Regions from separate parts of the Homo sapiens genome. Here all the other regions are linked to region 2. The links are contacts of gene promoters, found by promoter capture Hi-C in blood cells and fetal thymus (Javierre and others, 2016). All regions are on one chromosome and are shown on one strand. Each heading gives the region's core, a stretch centred on a gene start or on the middle of the fragment in contact. The rest is flanking DNA. Distances are from core to core; before and after follow the strand shown.

The links. The method cuts DNA at HindIII sites, captures the fragments that hold promoters and counts their contacts. A CHiCAGO score of 5 or more calls a contact.
Region 1: a contact is called between a fragment that was not itself captured here and the fragment with the promoter of CENPE in region 2, in 1 of 17 cell types (neutrophils). The highest score is 5.5, in neutrophils.
Region 3: a contact is called between a fragment that was not itself captured here and the fragment with the promoter of CENPE in region 2, in 3 of 17 cell types (fetal thymus, total B cells and monocytes). The highest score is 9.1, in fetal thymus.
Region 4: a contact is called between a fragment that was not itself captured here and the fragment with the promoter of CENPE in region 2, in 1 of 17 cell types (endothelial precursors). The highest score is 7.9, in endothelial precursors.
Region 5: a contact is called between a fragment that was not itself captured here and the fragment with the promoter of CENPE in region 2, in 2 of 17 cell types (naive CD4 T cells and total B cells). The highest score is 5.3, in naive CD4 T cells.
Region 6: a contact is called between a fragment that was not itself captured here and the fragment with the promoter of CENPE in region 2, in 2 of 17 cell types (non-activated CD4 T cells and naive CD8 T cells). The highest score is 8.0, in non-activated CD4 T cells.
Region 7: a fragment that was not itself captured here is called in contact with the fragment with the promoter of CENPE in region 2 in 2 of 17 cell types (megakaryocytes and erythroblasts); the score reaches 13.2 in megakaryocytes.

What each region holds. Positions count from the first base shown.
Region 1 is chr4:102,385,052-102,388,454 of GRCh38, reverse strand. No RefSeq gene overlaps it. Among named protein-coding and RNA genes, the nearest start is that of SLC39A8, 41 kb to the right of the region's middle. The HindIII fragment of the contact is 4,429 bases long and covers 1-3,403 here.
Region 2 is chr4:103,196,529-103,199,810 of GRCh38, reverse strand. It overlaps CENPE (centromere protein E), which reads left to right and starts at 1,468. Exons shown (of 49, transcript NM_001813.3): 1 at 1,468-1,547; 2 at 2,961-3,052. The coding sequence starts at 1,492. RefSeq lists an enhancer at 1,052-1,606. The HindIII fragment of the contact is 3,749 bases long and covers 1-2,422 here.
Region 3 is chr4:102,497,628-102,500,914 of GRCh38, reverse strand. The region is part of intron 1 of NFKB1-AS1 (NFKB1 antisense RNA 1); the gene reads left to right. Among named protein-coding and RNA genes, the nearest start is that of NFKB1, 2.1 kb to the left of the region's middle. The HindIII fragment of the contact is 1,389 bases long and covers 562-1,950 here.
Region 4 is chr4:103,909,118-103,912,425 of GRCh38, reverse strand. No RefSeq gene overlaps it. Among named protein-coding and RNA genes, the nearest start is that of LINC02503, 51 kb to the left of the region's middle. The HindIII fragment of the contact is 5,904 bases long and covers 1-3,308 here.
Region 5 is chr4:102,426,247-102,429,443 of GRCh38, reverse strand. All of the region lies in intron 2 of NFKB1-AS1 (NFKB1 antisense RNA 1), which reads left to right. Among named protein-coding and RNA genes, the nearest start is that of NFKB1, 74 kb to the left of the region's middle. The HindIII fragment of the contact is 984 bases long and covers 794-1,777 here.
Region 6 is chr4:102,336,615-102,339,965 of GRCh38, reverse strand. The region is part of intron 2 of SLC39A8 (solute carrier family 39 member 8); the gene reads left to right. Among named protein-coding and RNA genes, the nearest start is that of SLC39A8, 7.2 kb to the left of the region's middle. The HindIII fragment of the contact is 4,591 bases long and covers 1-3,351 here.
Region 7 is chr4:103,928,155-103,931,465 of GRCh38, reverse strand. No RefSeq gene overlaps it. Among named protein-coding and RNA genes, the nearest start is that of LINC02503, 32 kb to the left of the region's middle. The HindIII fragment of the contact is 4,781 bases long and covers 1-3,311 here.

The DNA.
Region 1 (3,403 bases), core at 487-2,986, 810 kb after region 2:
AAGATGGAAAATAAAAAATAAGCACAATAGTATGTATTTTTAAAATTAATGGCCAATTTTTCAACTATTGGGTCACAGTGACCTTAGCATCATGTGTACAGTAGGAAAAATCAATCAAAACATTTTTATGGAGGACCTTTGCTCTAAGTGCAACAAGCTAGAAAAACTTAAGATATATTTTCTTTTAAGGAACTTAAAATCTCCTTGGAAAGGTAAGATAAGAATGTAGAAAGTAACAGAAAATATGAGTACACCAATAATGTGCACCAGTGAAAAGGTTAAAAATAATAAGATTTAAGGCTTTCTCAGAAGTATGGGGTGGTCAGTGAATGCATTCACTGGGGGATGAAGGACATGGGAAGGGGGCTGAGACTTGAAGGATTCAGGGACTGATAAGATGCCGTGAAGATGAGGCAAGGGAGCCATTTCAAGCTAAAGAGTGGGAGGAGGATGGTTTGAGCAGAGATCTGGTGCAGAAAAGAGAAGAATGCCTGGAGGCAAGTTGGGTAACTGCAGGAGATAAGGTTTGGCAAGGTAAAAATGGGCCAGATGGTTGAGGGCTAGGCACAGGAATTCAGATTTTTGTCTTGCACAGATTTCAGAGTTTGAATTAGGAAATAATTTGACTTAGAGACTGTAAACACCCAGAAAAATGTAAGAGACAGCAGTTATGTAGGCTTTGTGATTATTGTAGAACTTCAGAACGGAAATGAATAATCTGACCTATGTGGACAGTGATGGGGATGGAAAAGCAGGGATGCATGTTAGTGAAGTTGCACAAGAGGAATCAAAAGCATTTGGTAACATGATCTAGGGGTGAGGGGCAGGTAACTTTCAAACTTTTTGATGATGATCATAACAAGAAATGCATTTATATATTTTGCTTATAATTACATATACATATATATGTTGTACATTTATAAAAAACGGAAATGAAAATTCTAAAAAAAAGTTTACGCTTACTCTAATTGATGTACATTGATATTTGTTTCCTTCCATTCTATTAAAAAATAAACTGATATTAATCCATGAAAATGATTTTATGAACCATGAGTGAGTTGTTATTTGAACACAATGTTTGTAGGGGTATAATTTAAAGGATACCAGAAAATTGTCCTTCTCCAAGATTTCTTACTGATTTTGCATTTCCAGAATTGGAAATTGAAATTTTGGTCCTGTGTTAAAGCAAATCTCTTTGGAAAGGCATAAACTTTGCAACCTTTTACCTTACAGTGAGCAATTTATTATCTTTCCTGGAAATCATGTTACGTTAGAGCAGACAATAGGGAAAATATGGAAGCCTGAGATGTTTGTCTGAAAGGTTGCGAAAGGCAAGACGGTGTTGAGACAGAAATGTTGTCCTCTTTAAAATTTTATATAGAAGTTACTACAATAAGTACAAGACAAAATTAATATTCACTCATTCATTCTCACTTAATCACAAGATAAAATTAATATTCACTCATTCATTCTCACTTAATCTTAGCCAAAAAACTGAGAAGCAATAATATTCATTCTCTGAATGAGGAAGAAAGACTTGAAGGAAGGTGGAACAAGGATTGGCAAACAGGATAGTAAGCCATTGTTTCTCAGCCATGAGGAGAAGATGCTAACCAGTACATCTGGAAGGTGAAGAACAGGAGAAGGAGAGGTTTGGAATAACCAGGAATAGGAATAGAGGGAGAAGGTGGGAGTGTAACTGTCTCAGGAGAGCGTTATATGTCAATGTATCATGTCAATGAGCCATGATAAAAGTGACTCTAGTCCTCAGGTTTAGGCAAGTTGCTTAGTCTGGGTCCTCTATCTTTTGTTGTGAAGACTCGATTTCACTAGAGTAACTGTCCAAACAAACCAACACACAGAGAATTAGGAAAATGGGTTCCTAATTCATCTGTGGTATTGTCAGGAGAATAGGAGAGTCAGGCAGTTAGTGTTCTTCTAGTGGTTCCAAGGATTAGAGGAAAATCATATTGGAGAAAGGGCATAGGGCACATGCCTTAATTTATGTGTATGGAGAAGGATGCTCTCTGGATGGCTGTGATAATCCCAGGTATCTCACGTTTTCAGCTTCAATTTGGTGTGTGGTCTGCATCTCCATGATTTTGTCTGGGCTGAGGGGTCAGTCGTGAACACTTCAGGGTTATTTTGCACCAGGCCGCTTAGTCCTATCTAGAATATGGCAAATCACTCTTAGATCTAAGATATCAATTTAGCAGAAACAGCAGTCAGTGAGTGAAGTCAAATAATTTCAATGGTGCACAATGGATGTATTAAATTTTATCATAGCACTAACCTCTTCTATCAATTGTGTAAGATTACTTTTCTCTTGAAAGACCAGTACCCTTAGAAGAAAGATCAATCTTCTCTTATTAATGCCTCTCTTAAACAGAGGCATTAAACTTACATATTTGCAACTTCTGCTTAACATTTATAATTAAGAATTCCTCCTTAATTTGGAGTAAATTATATAGAACTAGAATAAAAGATGAGTTCCCTTTGCCAATTTATAGAGCAGGAGCTGGATAAAAGGATGCGGCCATGCTGTTTTCTTCTCAGAGCTACATCTGCTCCAGTGCCTGAGGAGATGCCCAAGGCACAGTTCAAAGTCTCTATTTCTAATCTCTAGTGAGAGTTTGATAGGAAGAATGTGGACTTATCCTTCCTTGTCCTGAAATTGAGAGGAAGAGAGGGATGTGTGTGACTCCCCTCCCCGTGTTCAGGGACTTTGCCATCAAAGCCTTGCATTATTCCAGGAGTCCCCACTTGCTTTAGTTCGATGGAAAGAGAATTTAGCTGGATGGAGGAATCAGGAATTCCCCCTGAATATTGTGTGCCAAGGAAATCTTTTTTGTTTCCAGTAATCATAAAATAACCCATAACACCCAGATGGGTCTGATTCCTGGACCTCAACACAAATGTCCCCTCATTCTCTACTCTCTTTCAGATATAAAGGTAAATGCTATCTAAGCCACAGTAACCTTGAGATACTGTGGGCCTGGGGCAGAGAAGAGCATCTGTAGAAGAGGCAGTGGACCACAGTACTGGATCTGGAAGTTCTGAGCCTTTACTTGTTGAGGAGCAGTGAGTACCTATTTGGGATTTCTGGTGAGTAACATCACCTGCCTCCTCTGACAGAACTCCATTATCATGTCATTGATTTCTCAGTGAACCATACTCTAAAGGTATTACTAGGAGAATCTGGTCTGTGAACATATGCTCATAGTTCTGTGTCATAGGAACAGGTATAAGAATTTCAAGGAAATAAGCATATCAAATGGTCACTGTGGAAGACTAATTCGCTGTCTACATTGAGTTAGCATTTGCACATTTCACATGACTCCACACCCATGATAAATGATGAAGAACAACAATAGGAAGCATGCAACCAGCCAACTGCTCTGAG
Region 2 (3,282 bases), core at 219-2,718:
TGTGTACATAACCGTGCACCTTGAATTTCTCTTAATAAATGAAACATCTTGGATAGCTTTCTAAAGTACACATAAAAAGCTAGGCCAGGCACGATGGCTCATGCTTGTAATCCCAGCACTTTGGGAGGCCAAGGCAAGGAGGATTGCTTGAGCCTAGGAGTTCAAGACCTGCCTAGGCAACACTGTGAGACCCCACTCCCTACCCTAATCCCCCCACCACCCCGTCTCTACAAAAAAATTTAAAAATTATCTGGGCTTGTGATGTGCCTGTAATCCAAGCTACTCAGGAGGTTAAGGTGGGAACCCCACTTGGGCTGAGGCCAGGAGTTGAGCCTGCAGTGAGCTGTGTTCAGCCTACTGCACTCTAGCCTAGGTGACAAAGCAAGAACTCATGTTTATTTAAAAAAAAAAAAAAAAAAAAAAGAGAGAGAGAGAAGAAAGGGAAAATAAGCATTATTTTTGGGAAAAAATCACTGTATTTAGAATAGCTTTCCCTCTTAGTTAATAAAAGTAACAAACCAGGCCAGGAGCGGTGGCTCACGCCTTTAATCCCAGCACTTTTGGAGACCGAGGCAAGTGGATCACCTGAGGTCAGGACTTTGAGACCAGCCTTGCCAACATGGCGAAGCCCCGTCTCTACTAAAAATACAAAAATTACCTGGGCGTGGTGGCGGGCACCTTGTAATCCCAGCTACTGGGGAGGCTGAGGCAGGAGAATCACTTGAATGCAGGAGGTGGAGGCTGCAATGAGCAGAGATAAGCACCACTGCACTCCAGCCTGGGGTGACAGAGCGAGACTCCGTTTCCAAAAAAAAGAAGAAAAAAAAAGTATCAACCCATTACTCAATGAGTTTTTCAGTCCTCGGTATTTATTTTCCCTAATTCAACCTCTGAGGAAGCCACAGCTAATGGAAACGAGTTACAGAGAGAGAGAAACAGGAGAAAAGCCTAAACTCAGATTTTCTAAGGCGCACAACAGGCTTGTCACGTTTCTGGACTGGACAGCGAATTTCAACTCTTGCTGTTGAAAGTTTATTTTAAACTGTTGGTGCAGTTTCTTTAAAAGACGGCAATTCTGTTTGGGTAGTGAAAAATACATGTATCTCTACCTAGTTTCGTCTACAGGTTCCAAACTTTTTAAGGATGGGGTGGAGGATGACGTTCGCTAGCTTTTGGCAGATAATAGTATTCTGGTATTCCAGGACCACCACTCTCTGCCCACTCCTGGGAGCCCCTCCCTTCGGCCCTCTCCTCCGACTCTCTGCTGGGCCCTTTAAATCCCCTCTCCTGTTTAGCAGTGGTCACGCCGCCCGCCTTGCGTCCCCCGCGCTGCTCCGCACGTGGAATGGCCCATGACGTCACGAGGCCACGGCTCAATCAGATGCGGCGTTTGGGAAATTTTAAATTTAAAGGCGGGGCGGCCTGTGAGCCCTGAAGTGCCGGCCGCGGAGGGTCCTGGCCATTTTCCTGGGACCAGTTCAGCCTGATAGGATGGCGGAGGAAGGAGCCGTGGCCGTCTGCGTGCGAGTGCGGCCGCTGAACAGCAGGTAGGGGGGCCACACCACGGCCCGGTGCCCGCTGGGCCTGCGGCGCCGCCCTGAGCCGGAGGGGCGAGGCCTACGATGTTTCCAGGAGCCGCTGCTTCCCGGCTCTGCTGTCTAGTGACTCGGCTGCTGGCCATCGTTTCAGGGTCTGTAAAGTGACAGGGGAGGATCGGAGATCTAGAAGATACTTTCCAGCTGCGAGATTCACTTAAATTTAACTCAGTCTCGCTGACATACAGACCTTCCCTTCTGTGCTGCTCTGCCTTGCGGCATCTGCTCCTCCCTGCCCCATTCCCCGCCTAGAGAAGTCGTATGGGACCGTGCCTTCCTGGCCCTCATCACAGTTAGTCATTTTACACCTAACTGCTGTCTCCAGACCCTCTGAAGACAAGGGCTAGTCTGTCTTGTCACATTACATTCAATCGTCACTCAAGATCATTCTACAAATATTTATCAATTTTTTTTTAGTGACTTTGTACAACACAGACACTCCCGTCATTGCCCAGTGGCTCTTCCATTCTAATGGGACGAGACAGAAAGTAAAGTTGAAAATGTAGGATGTTAAGTGGTGATATGTAGGTAATAAGTGCTAGGGAGAAAAAGCAGGAAGAGGAATAAATGAAATCGGTTTGCTTCACTAGCTTCTGGCCCTCGACCCGAAATGCTAACACTTTGTGTGTGTGAGAAATTTTTATTGAACACGGGGTTTAATAAATGCAAATACCAAGATCAGGAATTTCCTATTTTTGAGGAGCTCATTATCTAATGCCTTAAACGGCTACATAAAGAAACCATTAGGATACCTTTTGACAAGTGTTATGATGGGCAGGTAGAGAATGTTTGCTAGAGGAGTTATTAGCCCATCAGAGACGAAAGCTTCCCGTGGGGTGAACTGGTGTCAGAAAAGTCTTGACGCTTTTCATGAGTGAAATAATCCCTATGTTACTTAATGGAAAGGGAAGTCAGAGTATTCCAGGCACAGAGAGGTTACATCTGTCATTTGGGGAAGACCTTCAGGTAGAGCTTAGGATGTATCTAGGAATTCAGAGGAAAATGGAAGAGAGAAATGACATGATCTAGGACTCGTGCCCTGCTGAGGATTTCATAAGTTTCCAAAAGGTTTTAAGAATTTTAAGCAAGACAGACATAATCAGAGTTGCATTTTGAATCCATCCCTTTGTTTACCAGTACTGGGGGAGAGGGTGAGAATGAAAGCCTTCACAAGAAAACACTTTTGAGGCGGCAGAAGGTCACTGAAGCTCCATTTAAGAGTTGAATCCTCAAAGATGGACTTTCTGTCATTCTCTTATGTTACTATCTTTCAAAATATTCTTTAGCAGGTGAAATCTTTTCAATTATTCCTCCTATGACATGACTTTTATGACTGGTTAAAATGCGGTGTTTTTATTCTTTTAGAGAAGAATCACTTGGAGAAACTGCCCAAGTTTACTGGAAAACTGACAATAATGTCATTTATCAAGTTGATGGAAGTAAATCCTTCAATTTTGGTAAGCTTATAATAGCATCAAAAGTTACCTTGTTATCCTTTTGCTATTAAAAGTACAAAAGGCTTATCAATAATATTAGATTTGTCACTAAAGATTAGACTAAGCCTTCTATAAACTGCTTCACTGGAAACAAAATTGTTTATCCATCATGTATTTAAGTAAGGTAACCAATTGGCATTTAAAACAGTTATAATCACAGTTATCTAATTTGCATCTAGGTAGATTCCAGA
Region 3 (3,287 bases), core at 7-2,506, 700 kb after region 2:
GGCCCGAGCAGCTGGAGGGTCGGCATGGATCCAAGCATGCCAGATATAAAAATAAAGCTCATCTGTATATTCCATTTAAGCGTGTCTCAGTTACATTCACATCTCTTCACAGATTAAACTACAATTTCGTTATCATAAACGACTTGTGCCCAGTAAAGTATAACCCTCTACTGGTTTTTGGTGCGGTCTTAAATCTCCTGGTTATAGAGCAGTTACTCAGAATGTTCATCTACAAGGCATTGTTAGGCCTTTATGATAATTACTGTGGATAGAATTATAGTGATGGTGGTAGCAATGGTTTTGGTTCACAGCTCATAAAATACTGATCTGGCAGAGGGGAGTTTTCTTTTTCTCTGAAGAGACCGCTACTGGCACCCACTGACAGGCCTCCCAGTGGCCACCATTCACTGGCATCTGAGCTGCTTTAGTGCTGGGCACTGTATTAGGTACAGGCTGGGGATACCTTCGGGTGGATTACCTCCCCACATAAGAAAGCTTGAGCCGAAATATATATTTTAGAGCTCATTGTTTCACTACTGGGTGGAGTGACAACTGAAAGCTTAGCTTTAAAACATCAGTAATCAGGTCCTCACCAGGCAATATTGCAGTGGCATTTAGATTGCTTATGGCATGTTCATCCTAGTCCTTTCGTGCCCACTCTCCATCCTCCTCCTCCAGTAGGTTATAAAAACCTTCTTGGTGGAGTGTTTTTCTGGAAAAAAAAAATAAACAAAAAAAACCCACACACACAAAAACCCAGCGATCCATTTGATTGCCTATGAGGTGAGTCTCCGAGGCGACCTTGGAGGCCCCAACAGTCGACCTTTAAGTGATCTCATTTAGCTCCGGGAGGCTGAGCAGCTGGAATTTAGAGGATCCATAAAGACTGAACACAATGACTTTTTAAGAAATTCTGTGAGCCGGGTGCGGTGGCTCACACCTGTAATCCCAGCACTTTGGGAGGCCAAGGCGGGTGGATCCCCTGAGGTCAGGAGTTTGAGACCAGCCTGACCAATATGGTGAAACCCCATCTCTACTAACAATACAAAAAAATTAGCCGGGCGTGGTGGCGGGCGCCTGTAATCCCAGCTACTCCAGAGGCTGAGGCAGGAGAATCGCTTGAACCCTGGAGGCAGAGGTTGCAGTGAGCCAAGATTGCGCCACTGCACTCCAGCCTGGGCGAGACAGAGCGATACTCTGAGAAAGAAAGAAAGAGAGAGGGAGGGAGAGAGGGAGGGAGGGAGGGAGGTGTGAGCATACACACTCTACTTTTCATTCTGCAAGGGGTGGCAGCCCCATTACCAAAAGATAGATAAATACAATTGTTATAAGAGTAGAGCCAGTGTGACATATTTGGGAGTAAAAAATGAAGAGCGTTAATTACTGAAAAGGATTAAATCAAACTCCAAACTCAAAATGATTCCATAAAATGAACTTAAAATTCAGGGTAGGGTGTTGAGCAGGCATATTTTCCTGGGGCTGCTGTAAAAATTTACCACCGACTGAACAGCTTACAACGGGAATTTATTCTGTCACAGTCCTGGAGCCTAAAATTCTGAACTCAAGGTGCCATTAAGGCCATGATCCCTCTGAAGGCTCTAGGGAAGAATCCTTTGCCTCCTCCTAGCTTCTGGTAGCTCCAGCAATCCTTGCCATTCTTGGCTTGGCTGCAACACTCCATTCTGTGCCTACATTGTCACATGGTCTCCTTCCCCGTGTTTCCTTTGTGTCGCTATATTCAACTCTCCCTCACCTTTCTTTTATGAAGACACCAGTCATTGGATTTAGAGCCCACCCCAATCCAGTATTACCTCATCTTAACTTGATAACATTTGCAAAGATCCTAGTTCCAAATAAACTCATGTTCACAGGTACCTGTGGTTAGGACTTGAACATATGTTTTGGGGGGATGTAATTCCATGCAGCACAGCAGGCAAAACTATAAAAGCTTTTTGGCTTGCTGATTAACCCTCCTCCATTCCTGCTTTGTTACCCAACATTTTCTCTACACTGTACAAACCTGCTTCCAGGAATATCTCTTACAAATTCATCCATCCTAAGGTGTCAGAAGGTATTTGCCATTATCAGGCTACGAAGAGGAAAAAAATGCCTCAATGTGGAATTTCAGACATCAATATTGTCTAAAAGACAAGTTATTTTGTGTTTGTCACTTGTCTTAGTTCATTTGTGTTGCTATGGCAGAATACACAAGACTAGGTAGCTTATAATGAAAAGAGGTTTATTAGGCTCACAGTCTTCAGACTGTACAAGAAGCATGGCACCAGCATATGCGTCTGGTGAGGGCCTCAGGCTGCTTCCACTCAATGGAAGGCAAAGGCGGGTGGTGTGTGCAGAGAGATCGTATGGCGAGAGAGAGGGGAGAGATGCCAAACTTTTTAGCAACCAGCTCTCATAGGAACTAATGCAGTGAGAACTCACTCATCCTCTCCTCCTTGCAGGGAATAGCATCAATCTATTTGTGAGGGATCCACCTCCATGACCGAAACATCTCCCATTAGGCCCCACCTCCAAAATTGGGGTCACATTTCAACATGAGGTTTAGAGGAGACAAATACCCAAACCATAGCATCACTAAATCATTGAAACTACACAAATTTCCCTTCTCATGAAGCTATTTTGGAAATACCAGTGTGGAGAGAATTCTGAGGTTGAGATCTGTGTAGTGTGTTCATTGGCAATGAGAACATAGGAAAAGTATGTCTTCTTTTTAATTGCCTCTGAGTAAAGGTGACACAACACTTCTGCCCACATTCCATGGCCCCACTTAGATGCAAGAGAGCAGGGAACTACAGTTCTTCTGGTTGGTTAGGAGGTTGAAATAGGTCGGCTAAGCATATGGTTAATACCTGCTATACACGTATTCACTTATTTGGTTGTCAGTCATATAAAGTGGATCACCATTATAATCCCCATATTTACAGATGAAAAGTTGAATAATTTTCCTAAGGTTTCATAATTAGTAAATAGAAGGAGAGTCAGGATTTGAACCTAACAGATTTGGCTCCAGTGTGCATGATATTAACCACCACACTAAACTATTATCCAATGATATAAAAAGGAGCATGTAAGAGATTTTTAGAAGATGAGGTCAACAGGACCTGTTTATAGATTATATATGCAGTTTGAGTGAGAGGAAGACTCATAGATAGCTCTGAGTGTTCTAGTCTGAGTGATTAGAATAGTAACACTGTAACTGGGAAAAAATCTGTGGGAATGTAATGCATTCCCACATACCAAACATACATGTAACATGTAAACATACATAT
Region 4 (3,308 bases), core at 389-2,888, 710 kb before region 2:
AGGAGAGAGATCCATACAGAAGGAACTTCAAAGACTTTCCACAGATTCCCCAGGAATATTCTTCAGGGTACCACTCACTGTGTGTGTGAGGAAACTAACCAAAGCTGGGGCAGAAACTACACAAAATACTTAGAGGAAACTGTGCCCAGCACTCACCTAAAGCTGGGAAATAGTGACTGTTCCCACCAGCCAGAGTGAAAATCTCATAATTCAAGAGGGACTCTGTAAAGTGCTAAGAAGGATCCTGCCTAAATTGTGGAGAATGAAAATATTCCTGGATCAAACACATTGAACACTGTGATTGTCTTATCTAACAAATCTTTAAAGCAAGTCTTGAAGGAATAAAGTGTTTCCAAATAACTGCATCTCAGAACAAGGCTGAAAAATACACACACACACACACACACACACACACACACACACATATTTTCCATTAAATAAGGTAAAATTAACAATGTCTGACATCCAGTAAAAAATTATAAGGTAGGCTAGGCGTGGTGACTCACGCTTGTAATCCCAGCACTTTGGGAGGCTGGGGTGGGCGGATCACCTGAAGTTGGAGTTCGAGACCAGCCTGACCAACATGGTGAAACCTTGTCTCTACTAAAAATACAAAATTAGCAGGGCGTGGTGGCTCATGCCTGTAATCCCAGCTACTCAGAAGGCTGAGGCGGGAGAATCGCTTGAACCCGGGAGGTGGAGGTTGTGGTGAGCCAAGATCGCGCCATTGCACTCCCGCCTGGGCAAGAGCAAAACCATCTCAAAAAAAAAAAGAAAGAAAGAAAAGTTACCAGGTATACGAAGAATCAGAGACACAACCCAAAAATGAGTTGAAAAAATCAACTATTTTGAACTAACTAGGCTTACATGGATTCAAAATTAGCAGGCAATATTAAATAACTGTATTCTATATGTTCAAAACCTTCAATGTCTAAGATAAGAAAATACACTAACTGCTATTAACAAGATAAGACATTTCAAATAACTATAACATACTGAATGATAAATGATTTCTCATGTGAAAAAAGCATTTGCCATATCTTTAATGAACTTCATCATTAATGATGAAGTAATTGAACACTGTGATTGTTCAATTATTCATCATTATTTTTCATTATTGATCATTAATGATGAATTATTGAAATGTGTCCTCCAGAGATAATAGGAAGATGATGCCTGAAATAATTTCTATTCAGCACTTTAGTAGAGGTTTTAGTGCAAAAAGCCAAAATAAAAAATTGAATGAATGAATGAGGAGACAGATACAGATAATGAATAGAATGGTATTTGAAAAAGAGAATAGTATAGATATAAGTATAGATGATACAGATATAGATGATACAGATTTAATCATCCACCTGAATGCAAAAATAAATTATGGTTCTATATGGAAGCAACAAATGAAAAACTCTAAACAGAGAAAAAAGGTAGTATTTATCTCACACATAAAAAATATTGGGCCGGGCATGGTGGTGGCTCACACCTCTAATACCAGCACTTTGGGAGGCCAAGGTGGGTGGATCACCCGAGATCAAGAGTTCAAGAGTGGCCTGGCCAACATGCTGAAACCCCATCTCTACTAAAAATACAAAAACTGGCCAGGTGTGGTGGTAGGCACCTGTAATCCCAGCTACTCGGGAGGCTGGGGCAGGAGAATCACTTGAGCCCGGGAGGCGGAGGCTGCAGTGAGCTGCAATAGCAGCCCAACCACTGCACTCTTGCCTGGGCAACAGAGTGAAACTCCGTCTCAAAAAAAAAAAAAAAAAATTATAAATCTAACAAGACATCTTCAAAACATTTACACTAAAATCTATAAAATAATATTTAGTACAATTAGATAAGTAAATTTAAAGTGATGCCCTTTTGTGGACAGAAAGTCTCAATATCATAAAAATGTTTATTTTCTCAAACTGAGTGATGTCACAGTCCATTTGTACTCCTATAACAAAATACTGGAAACTGGGTGATTTATAAACAACAGAGATTTATGTTCTCACTGTTCTGAAGGGTAGAAAGTCCAAGACCAAGGCGCCAGCAGGTTGGTTGACTGGAGAGGGCTATTAATTGCTTCCAAGATGACACCTTATTATAGCTGCATCCTCTAGAGGGAAAGAATGCTGTGTCCTCACATGGCAGAGGAGACAGAAGGGGTTCAAAAGGAGCCAACTTTCTCAATCAAGCCCTTTTATCATGGCATTAACCCACCCATGGGGGCCAGGACCTTATGATCTAAATAACTTTCAAAGACCCTGACTTCCAAGACTATTGCATTGGGAATGGAGTTTCCATCACATGAATTTTGGGGGACACACTTAGACCATAGCCATTGATAAATTCAGTACACTATCACTAAAGTTTCTAGGGAACATGAGTGTTTAGATTGTAAAAATTATCAATATATAACTTATCAAGAGAAAACAAGGCACAAGGCTATCAATCATACCAATGAAACGTAATAGAAAGTAAAGAAAGAAACACACTCACATATACCTGCATCTGATTTAGGACTGTACAAACCTAGCATCTATTCAATAAATGGTGCCAGGTAAATTGGTTATTTATATGGAAAATAATAAACTTCTAATGGATTATACATATGTGACAGGTAAATTAATTAATGCTTCTAGAAGAAACAAGAGGGTAATAATTATCTTGAGGTAGGTAAAACATTCTTAAACATTACACCAAAATCTCTTTTAGTAAAAGTAAAATGAAAACTAGATATAGTAATAAATTTTATTTATAGAAGTGACAGTAAAAATGGGGTGAAAAATTTCCAAAGAATAGGATATATACATCTGACATTTTTTCCCCAAATGCATAAAAGTTGGTAAAGAAAAGATGTAACCTCCTTACCCTCAATTGATAAAAATCTTTACCAGACATTTCACACAAAATGATATTCAAATGGTAAGTAGGCATGTGAAAAGTTGCTCAACATTATAAATCAACATAGAAATACAAATGAAAATACAAGCAACTACACACCCACCAGAACAGCTACAGTGAAAAAGGCAGACAATACAAGTTTCAGTGAAATGTGACACAGTTGAAACTTAAAATATACTGATGTGGTGTACATTTATTTAACCTCCTTGGAAAACAGTTTGGTAGTATCTGCTAAAGTTTTGTATGTAACAAGGAATTCACAAGTCCATGTCTACTTATACACATGAAAAATTCATATTCATAAATACATTTCCCCAAAGACATGAACAAAATTGCTGATAGCATTTATTACTTATTACTCAAAGTGATGGAACAACAACCATGTAAAAACTAAAATAAAGCTAGATAATGCTGATATA
Region 5 (3,197 bases), core at 36-2,535, 770 kb after region 2:
AAGTCAGCCCTTTCTTGACCACAAATTCTCTTTTGTCTTTCATTCCATCTTTTTTCTTCCTTTTTGTCCATGAGTTGCCACTGCTTTTCCACTCCCTTTTCACTCCTTAACTGACTGATCTCTAATTTTCTCTCCCATCACTAGACTAATACAATTCGTGAATGTTGCCAATGATCATTTTAACTCATCTTATTGGCCCTACTTGCCAAATTTGGGAAAATTGGTCACAGCCTCTTCTTGAAACTGTTTGATGTTTGCCGCTTTCTGATAATCTCTTCTTGGTCTTCTCCTAATCTGCTCATTTCATAATTTTTTTTTTCCTGTTTGATTCTCAGATTTTCCCTCTTCCCCTTGTACATCAAAAAATTTTAAACCCAGGTTCTTTAGTGATCCACAGGCCTCCTGAAATTCTGTGCAAAAATTTGGGTCTTTGATTATGTGTAATTTTCTAATAAGAAAGTCCATAGTTTACAGCTATTCTCAAAAGCATTAATTTCTCTCCAAAAGTGTAATAACCATTGTTCTATGTGGTCTTGCAAGGCAATCTTGGCAATTAATTTAGTTTTTTAAACAACTGACATATATCAAGAGCATACTAAGCAAAAGTATAGTAATTTTCTTAAGTAACCCTCAATTAGGTATGATAATCTTCACTTTACAAATCAGAAAATGGAGGCATAGAGAGGTGACTTGGCCTAGGAGACATAGCAGGTAGGTAGCTGTTATAGTTTTAATTGTCTTTTATTTGCTGATGATTCTCAAACCTGTATCACCAGCCCATATCCTCCAAGCTTCAGATTCATGAATAACTCAGTAAGTCATTTCTGGGGATACTCTATGGGGTATCAAACTCAGCATTTTTAACACTGAGCTTATTAACTTCTTGCCCCAACCTGTTTCTTCTGTATTCTCCATTCAGGGCCCATGCTACGGGAGTCATCTTGACTGTTTTCCTTTGTCTCCTACATTCAACCAATTTTCAGTCCTATTGAATTTAAATTCAAATTATAACTGTTTCTGCTAAGATACTAATCACCTTTTACCTGGTCTTATGTAACAGCGTCCTACCTATCTGAAATCCTTTGATGACACAGCATTTCATGGTGACTGAATAAATGGGCTATAAGGCCTTTGAAATATAATCCCAAGCCTGGCTGTCTCTTTACAACCTTCTCCAGCCTCTCCCTTCCCGTAACTTATACTTCAGCCACATCGCATGCCTGGATTGATCCAGGGATAAAAATCTAAACTATTTGTTGGGCTGGGTAGACTTTATCTCCTTGAATTATGAATTAATTATGGATTCTCTATGAATATTATTTCTTACGTCTTTTGATAAAAGCTGGGTAGTGACTGTCAGGTATTTTATTATCTGAAAAATGCCTTAGAGCAATTATTTGGTGTTATGATTGAAGCACATGTATTATAAAGCTAATATACTTCAAAAAGTATGTATTTTAGAGATCAATTGAGCAAAGAGAAAAAGGTTAATGTCCCCTTATGAAAATTAAGGTGCCTAAGCTAGACTTTGTCTTGAATAGACATTGGCCTACCTCTGCATGGAGAAGGCCTAGGAGCACTATAGACAGTTAATAGATTTTTCTCAGAATACAATTCTGGGTCTGCTCCAGGATAGGGGCAGATCAATCAACAAAGTTCCAAAGGTCTACACTGTAGACCGTGGCTTTGGCAATTTTAGCCTGGAAGATTTTCAAAGCAGAATTACCCCGAGAAAAATCTCAGAAATCCATCTGAGAAATGTCTGAGTTTGAAAGCTTCTCAGTGAACCCTCTAGAGAAAATTACTTGTGAAATGTGCCCCTTACTAATAAAAATGACTGACATGCTGTTTGGAGTTGTTTGATATAAACCAATTAAACCTTGGAGAATATTTGCCAAAACTGTGAATTTGTGTTTAGAGATAGTTGACCTTATGCAAACTGTTTTTTTTGTTGTTGGTTACCTGGTAGCAAAATTGTGTATTGAGTCCAGTACTACCATGGATTTTTTTTTTTTTTCGCAAGGGGAATTCTACTTGAGTTATGAAGTTGAGTGTGGTTTCTTTCAGCTTCTGATAGTCTCAATGAGATTGCTGCTAATTGGGTATTTGTTTACAGGTTTTAACAAACTGTAACTGTTAGAATTTTTCCATGCATTTATCCAAAAGAGGCAGATAATTTAAATAAGTACTCAGGGGCTACCTAATTTTTCACTTACTAGCTATGTACCAAAACATGGTGTGTTAGAGGAGCTCTCAGTGGCTCAACATGTATATAATGAATTGTGCCTCGATCACTTATAAAATGGCCCCTCTTGTCTATCAATAACCTCACACCTTCTTTGTTGAAATTTCAAATTCCAGTTTTGTGGGTACATAGTAGGTGTATGTACACAAATGTTCACAGCAGCAGTATTAATAATAGCCAAAAAAGTGGAAACAACCCAAATGTCATCAAGCGGTGAAAAGATTAAACAAGGTGATATATCTATAAAATTAAAAACTAGCAATAAAAAGGAACAGATTGCTGGGCACGGTAGCTCATGCCTGTAACCCCAGCACTTTGGGAGGCTGAGGCGGGCAGATCACCTGGGGTCAGAAATTTGAGACCAGGCAGGCCAACATGGCGAAACCCCATCTCTATGAAAAATAAAAAAAATTAGCCAGGTGTGGTGGTGGGCGCCTGAATCCCAGCTACTTGGGAGGCTGAGGCAGGAGAATTGCTTGAACCCGAGAGGCAGAAGTTGCTTGAGCCAAGATCGCGCCACTGCACTCCAGCCTGGGTGACAGAGCAGCAGAGCGAGACTCTGTCTCAAGAAAAAAAAAAAAAGAAAAGAAAAGAAAAGAAAGAACAGATTACTGATACATGCTGCAACATGGAGGACCTCAAAAACATTATGATTCCTGAAAGAAGCCAGAATTAAAAGACTACATATTGTAAAATTCCATTGTAATGAAATACCTAGAAAAGACAAATTTATAGAGACAGAAGCTCTGGGCATATGTGGGAGTAATTTACTGCAAATAGCCACAAGGGAATTTTGCCAGGTGATGGAAATATCCTAAAATTGTATTGTGGGTTTGACTGCACAGTTCTATAAATTTACTAAAAATCACTTACAATAGGCAGATTTTATTATATGTAAATTATATATCTCAATAAAGTTATTTAAAAGTGAAAAGAATTTCAAATTCTAAAT
Region 6 (3,351 bases), core at 62-2,561, 860 kb after region 2:
CAATGACCTTGAGCAGTGGGATATAAATAACTCCCACATGCTTAGTGTTTCAATAATGGAACACTAGGAATAAATGTGTTTAAAAACCAATGTGAGATAAGACCTGTGTTTTCAGAACATTAATCTGACATGAGAGTGTGGAATGTATTGGAGTGGGTCAAGGTGGGAGCTAAGGAGCCATCTGCAGTGGATTTCATGAGATGTAAGGACCACTTGAATTTGGAGAAACTCAGAAGGTAATATAAAGGCTCTGCCTTCAGAGACTTCAAGAAGAGCAGGCATGGCTGAAGAGTATGCAAAAGGCCCCAAAGATAAGCCTTTTCTATTTCAATATTTTGCCTGTAATCATTATTTATTTAAGTATTGCTAGATCTCTTCCTTCATTATCTTCTGACCCTGTGATGCCAGAAGGAGAAAGAATAACTCCGGGCTCATATTAATGGATGGCCAGGCTAGTGGTATGTAGCAAAAAGGAGTGTATGTATGTGTGTGGATACTGCAAACATGTTTTTTGCATTGCCTGTTGTCATCTACTGCACTTTTTCCTGGGGTGGGGGTAATGATGGGTTAGATGAGGGTGTTTCTGGGAAGCACTGACTATGGACAGAAGAGATAAAGAACATTTGTTCTTTTTTTTTTTTCCCCTTTATGTGCTGAGAAATGGTGGGGGTAAACCTTCTAGGAATGCCTTCTAACCTGCTTGTTCAGGTGAGAAACTGGAAGGGCAGGACAGAGGGTGAGGTTACCTAGGTCTCTTGTTAAGAATCCTCCAAGACAATGGCCCCATTCTGATCTATTAGATCACTCTCACATAAGTTGATTGTGTACAGTGTGTTGATTGTATTTCAAGGCTTTGGGAAAATGAGGGACATTCGTAATTCATTTGACTGTGATGTCAAGAGCTTAGTTTGCCTTGATGCCAGGTGTGATTGGGATCCATTAGGAAAATGCTTTTCATTCCTTTCATATCTAACTCCCAAAATCACATCTTTACCCACTATTCTAGGAGTCATATGAACCCTTTTATATGTAATGTAATAATTATAGCTAGGATTTATTAATCTTTTACTGTGTGGCATTACTCCCTTAACCAATTTATTTGTATTATCATGTTTCATACTCATACCAACTCTATGATAAAGGTCCCATTATTATCTTCATTTTATGTGTAAGAAAAATGTGGCACAGAGAGGTTAAGTAACTGGACCAACGTCACGAAGTAAGTGGTAGAACCTCAGGCAGTCTTACACACTATGCTATAGTGCATTTTTTGAATTACAATCTAGAAAACCATACTTTCTCTAGCTAGAGCAACCATGACCTTAGATTTTGAACTACAGGGAGAAGTTACTAGTCATCGACTGCCTATCTGGTTACATTGCTTAGTCACATTAAGGAAATGGTACTAGAGCTGTGGAGGCTACGATGATGATGACTTGTCTTTGTCCTCAGAGACCTTATAATTAAGAAATAAGATGGAGGCTGGGCGCGGTGGCTAACGCCTGTAATCCCAGCACTTTGGGAGGCTGAGGGGGGCAGATCACAAGGTCAGGAGATCGAGACCATCCTGGTTAACATGGTGAAACCCCATCTCTACTAAAAATACAAAAAATTAGCCGGGAGTAGTGGTGGGTGCCTGTAGTCCCAGCTACTCAGGAGGCTGAGGCAGGAGAATGGCGTGAACCCGGGAGGCAGAGCTTGCAGTGAGCCGAGATGGCGCCACTGCACTCCAGCCTGGGTGACAAAGTAAGACTCCGTCTCGAAAAAAAAAAAAAAAAAGAAATAAGATGGAAACTGTGAAAAGTGACTATGGAAGGCAAAGCTGCAGTAATCACGAAAGCAGACATTGTAAAACATATCACAAGGCCATATATGATTGTCACATGGATACTAGAAAACATCTGCTACTAGTTTAGAAAGGTGAGGGATTTTTTGGGGTTGGAAATGCCTCATGGAAAAGTTATAACTCAGTCAATTTGGCTTATCTGGTTTGGTTTTTAAAAAATTTATTGATTGAACTCTTGCTTATACCAAATGTGATGAATTTTCATGTGAATTACATGAATTCTTTTTTAGAGGATGAAATTTTCTTTTATTGTTTCATATATAATGAATTTTTTTAAGGGACTATATTTTGAGCAACAATAGTACTTTCTTCTATGGATAGACTTCAGGCATGTCTAGTATGAAACCTTTCAGTTCATTTCTCACTTTTATGCTAGAAGTTTTCGGCCAATGAATCCACTGTCTCTTCTGGCGGTTTAGAATGGAAATCTTCCCTTATGATGCCTCTGAAGCAATTGCATTCTTAACTGCACAACACTGGAGAAAGTGGTTTGTGCATAGGTGTTGGGGAATGAGTTGAAGCAAGGAGGGAAGAGTAGGTGAGCCGAGCCAAGTACTTCAACAGAATCACTGACTCTTAACTATAGGTAAGACAGTGCTGCTAGGAGGCAGTTTGAGCTTTCTCACACAGTTATCAGGTGAACTTTCCATAATTGGGATAGATCTTTCTCTCTAGGGATGTTCCCTAGGGTTGTTCTCTCATCTGGGTGGGAGATTTGCAGCTGTTATGCTTTCCATGATTTATTCTTATCTTGGGATATATTGAGGGGCAGGGACTTAGTTTTCTGCTTTCTAGTCATAAAAACCTATTACTTTTCAACCATAATAATTGTTTAAAGGTGTTTTCTTTAAATTTAATATACTTTTGATTCTTTTTTTTTTTTTTTGAGAAAAGTGAATTCCTTTTGGTGGTAGTAGGGATTGGGGGAGAAAAATAGGAATATAAATAGAAATGGAAAATAAGGCCTGAAGTTGAGAAGGATCAGTGATCCTCAGGAAAAGAAAAGCAACATCTAATGAAGGCAATTTAATGTGGCTGGTAATGGGTTTGCAAGTTACTTGTATTCCAAGTGGTGTTTCCTCAAGGGATGTACACATTACTAAGTGCAAACAGCTAGTATTAGGGTCATTTACAATGCAATTTATTTTAAAAAAAGAATGTTACTAAACTCTAGGCTATCTAAAAAACTAGGTAATTTTCAGAATTTTCCCATTTCCAACTTTATATAACAGTAGATTCCTGTTTGTAATCAAAACTAATTAATTTATTCTCAAATTATTCCCAATTGTCTGTTTCAGTAGCCTTGAGATTTATTTTATAAAGAAATGAACCTTTCATCGAATTACCTTTGTGTTGATAGGATTTGGGAGCATAGAAAACATTCAGAATGGAGCCTTGTTTAATTTGGCTTCCGTCTCTTTCTAAAGATACTCTGTTGTTTTTCCTGGCCTGAAGTTTAAGGAGAATAAAAACAAAAATCTGTTGAGTCTAGATTAAAGGTGAAC
Region 7 (3,311 bases), core at 547-3,046, 730 kb before region 2:
AGCATGCTAAGACTAATCAAAAGAAGTCTTCAGTGGCTATACAGACATCAGGCAAAGTAAATTTTAGGAAAAAAAATATTATCTGAGAGACAGTGGATCATTTTACAAGGATAAAGGCATCAATCCATCAAGAAAGCATAACAATATTATACTTTGATGTACTAGTAACAGAGTTTCAAAGTGCATGAAGCAAAGACTGATATGAAGCAATGACAGGAGAAATCAATTAATGCAAAAATAATATTCAGAGTTTTCAACATCTCTTTCTCAATAATTGATATAATAATTAGATAAAAATTAGTAAAATATAAAAATACTGGAAGAAAACTATTAACTAAGCTCAAAGTTCAATCAGGACCTACAACAACATAGTGGGGAAGAAAATGAGAGACAGAATAGCTGCATAGAAGGGATCACTAGGGAGACTGGCTTAGCAGGGAAGTCTGGAGATGGCTGGGAGCAAAGAAGGGAAGATCCTATCTGTATTAGTCATGTGGTGAGTGCCATCGCAGGCCCCAGAGACCTGCTATGTAAAGAACTCCAGTAGCATTTTGTATATTAGACAACAGTGCCACCACCACAATGAGGACGCCCATGAGCCAGAACAGGTGCCGCATTGTCTTCTGTGAGGAAAAAAAAAAAAAGGTATCAGGATGTCCAGAGCAGCCTTGACCACTAAAAAGCTCAAAAACCTTCATCACTGCTATGGACAATCATGGCCGTGGCTCTTGAGGACCCGTGGAATCTTTATTGATGCTGACCTCAGTTAATAGAGCTGCATGGACACTACACTGCTGAGGCCTCCCCCAGAATAAGAGCCACCACATCCCACCCAATACTGGAGAGTGATCAATAGGTCTCGAGTAGATATCAAAGGAGCAATTGAAATGTATCTTGAGATAAATGAAAATGAAAACATCATACCAAAACTTACGGGATACTGCTTATGGGAAGCATTTCTAAGAGGGAAGTTTATGGTATAAATGCCTACAAGAAGAAAAAAAGGCAAATCTCAAATAAACATTCTAACTTTATACCTCAAGGGACTAGTTAAAGAAGAATAAAGTAAGTCCAAGGTTAGCAGAAGGAGAAAAATAACAGAGATAAGAGTAGAAATAAATTAAATAAAGACAGAATAATGATGGAAAAGATCAACCAAACTAAAAGTGGTTTCTTAAAAAGATAAACAAAAATAAAGAATCTTTAGCTAAACTAATGAAAAGGTAAGAAGACTCAAATAAGAAGTGATAAAAGTGACATTATGATATTTCAAAATACAAAGCATTACAAGAGACTACTATGAGCAATTATACACTAAGAAATTGGATAACCTAGAAAAAATGGATAAATTCCTAGAAACATATAAAACTGAAAAGACTGAATCATGGTGAAATAGAAAACCCAATGTCTGGGTGCGGTGGCTCACGCCTGTAATCCCAGCATTTTGGGAGGCTGAGGCGGGCGGATCACCTGAGGTCAGGAGTTCGAGACCAGTATGGCCAACCTAATGAAACCCCATCTCTACTAAAAATACCTAAATAATTAGCCGGGTGTGGTGGCGTGCTTGTAATCCCAGCTACTTGGGAGGCTGAGGCAGGGAGGGGAAGGTTGCGGTGAGCCGAGTCACGCCACTGCACTCCAGACTGGGTGACAGAGCAAGACTCCAACTCAAACAAAAAAAAAAAAGAAAGAAATAGAAAATCTAGATAGACCAACTAATAACTAGTACGAAGATTACGTCAGTTAAAACAATTCTAACAATGAAAAGCTCAGATCCAGATGACTTCATAGGTATATTCTAGCAAACTTTTTTTTATAAAAGTATTAATACCAATTCTTCTCAAACTCTTAACAAAAAGTTGAAGGAGAGAGCCCTTCCAAATTTATTCTATTGTCCATTCAGTATGATGTTGGGTGTGAGTTTTTCATAGATGGCTCTTACTATTTTGAGATATATTTCTTTAATACCTAGATTGTTGAGGGTTTTTAATATGAAGCGATGTTTAGTTTTGTTGAAAGCCTTTTCTGAATCTATTGAAATGATCTTGTGGCTTTTGTTTTTAGTTCTGTTTATGTGGTAAATAACATTTACTGATTTGCATGTGTGCTGAACCAACCTTGCATCCGAGGGATACAACATACTTGGTTGTAGTGGATTAGCTTTTTGATGTGCTATTGGATTTAATTTGCTGGTATTTTGTTGAGAATTTTTGCATGTTAATCAAGGATATTGTCCTAAAGTTTTTGTATTTTGTTGTGTCTCTGCCAGGTTTTTGATTCTGGATGATCCTGGACTCATAAAATGAATTAGGAATGAATCCCTCCTCCTCAATTTTTTTGTAATAGTTTCAGTAGGAATGATATCAGCTCTTCCTTATACATCTGGTAGAATTTGTGAATCCATCTGGTCCTGGGCTATTTCTGGTTGGTAGGCTTTTTATTATTGATTCAATGTTGCAACTCCTTATTGGTCTGTTCTGAGAGTCAACCTCATAGGTATATCATCCCACAGCCTTCTGGTGTTCATTGCTTTTGATGAGATACGAGCTGTGAATTTTATCCCAGATTACTTATACTTGGGGAGTTGCTTCTCTTTATTCTTCCTGGATTTCCTCTTTGTTTTTGACTTTCAACAGTTTGACTATAATATGTCTTGGTGTAGATCATTTTGTGTTTATTCTACTAAAGATGTATTTAGCTTCTCAGATTCATGTCTTCACAAGGAAAGTTTTCAGGCATTATTTCTTCAAATATTCTTTCTGCTTTATTTTTTCTCTGTCTCTCCTCCTGTGCTACTTCAATTATGTGCATGTTGGTACACATGATGGGATGTCCCACGGATCTCTTAGTTTCTGTTTATTTTTCTATTTTTGTTTGTTTCTGTTCCACAGTCAGATAGTCACAATTAACTTATTCCACACTCACTGATTCATACTTTCACTTCCTCAAATATGTTGTTGAATCCCTTGATTAAATTCTTCATTTTAGTTATTTTACGTTTAATTACAATTTCCATTTGGTTCTACATTTATTAGGTTTCTTTCTATAATTTCTACTTACAAAATCTGTATTATCCTCTATGTATTAGTCCATTCTCACACTGCTATAGAGAACTGCCTGAGACTGCGTAATTTATAAACGAAAGAGGTTTACTTGACTAGTACTGCATGACTGGAGGGTCCTCAGGAAACTTACAGTCATGGCAGAAGGAGAAACAAACACATCCTTCTTCACGTGGTGGCAGGAGAGAAAAGTACCTGCAGGGGTACACATAAAACCATCAGATCTCATGAGAACTCACTACCGCGAGA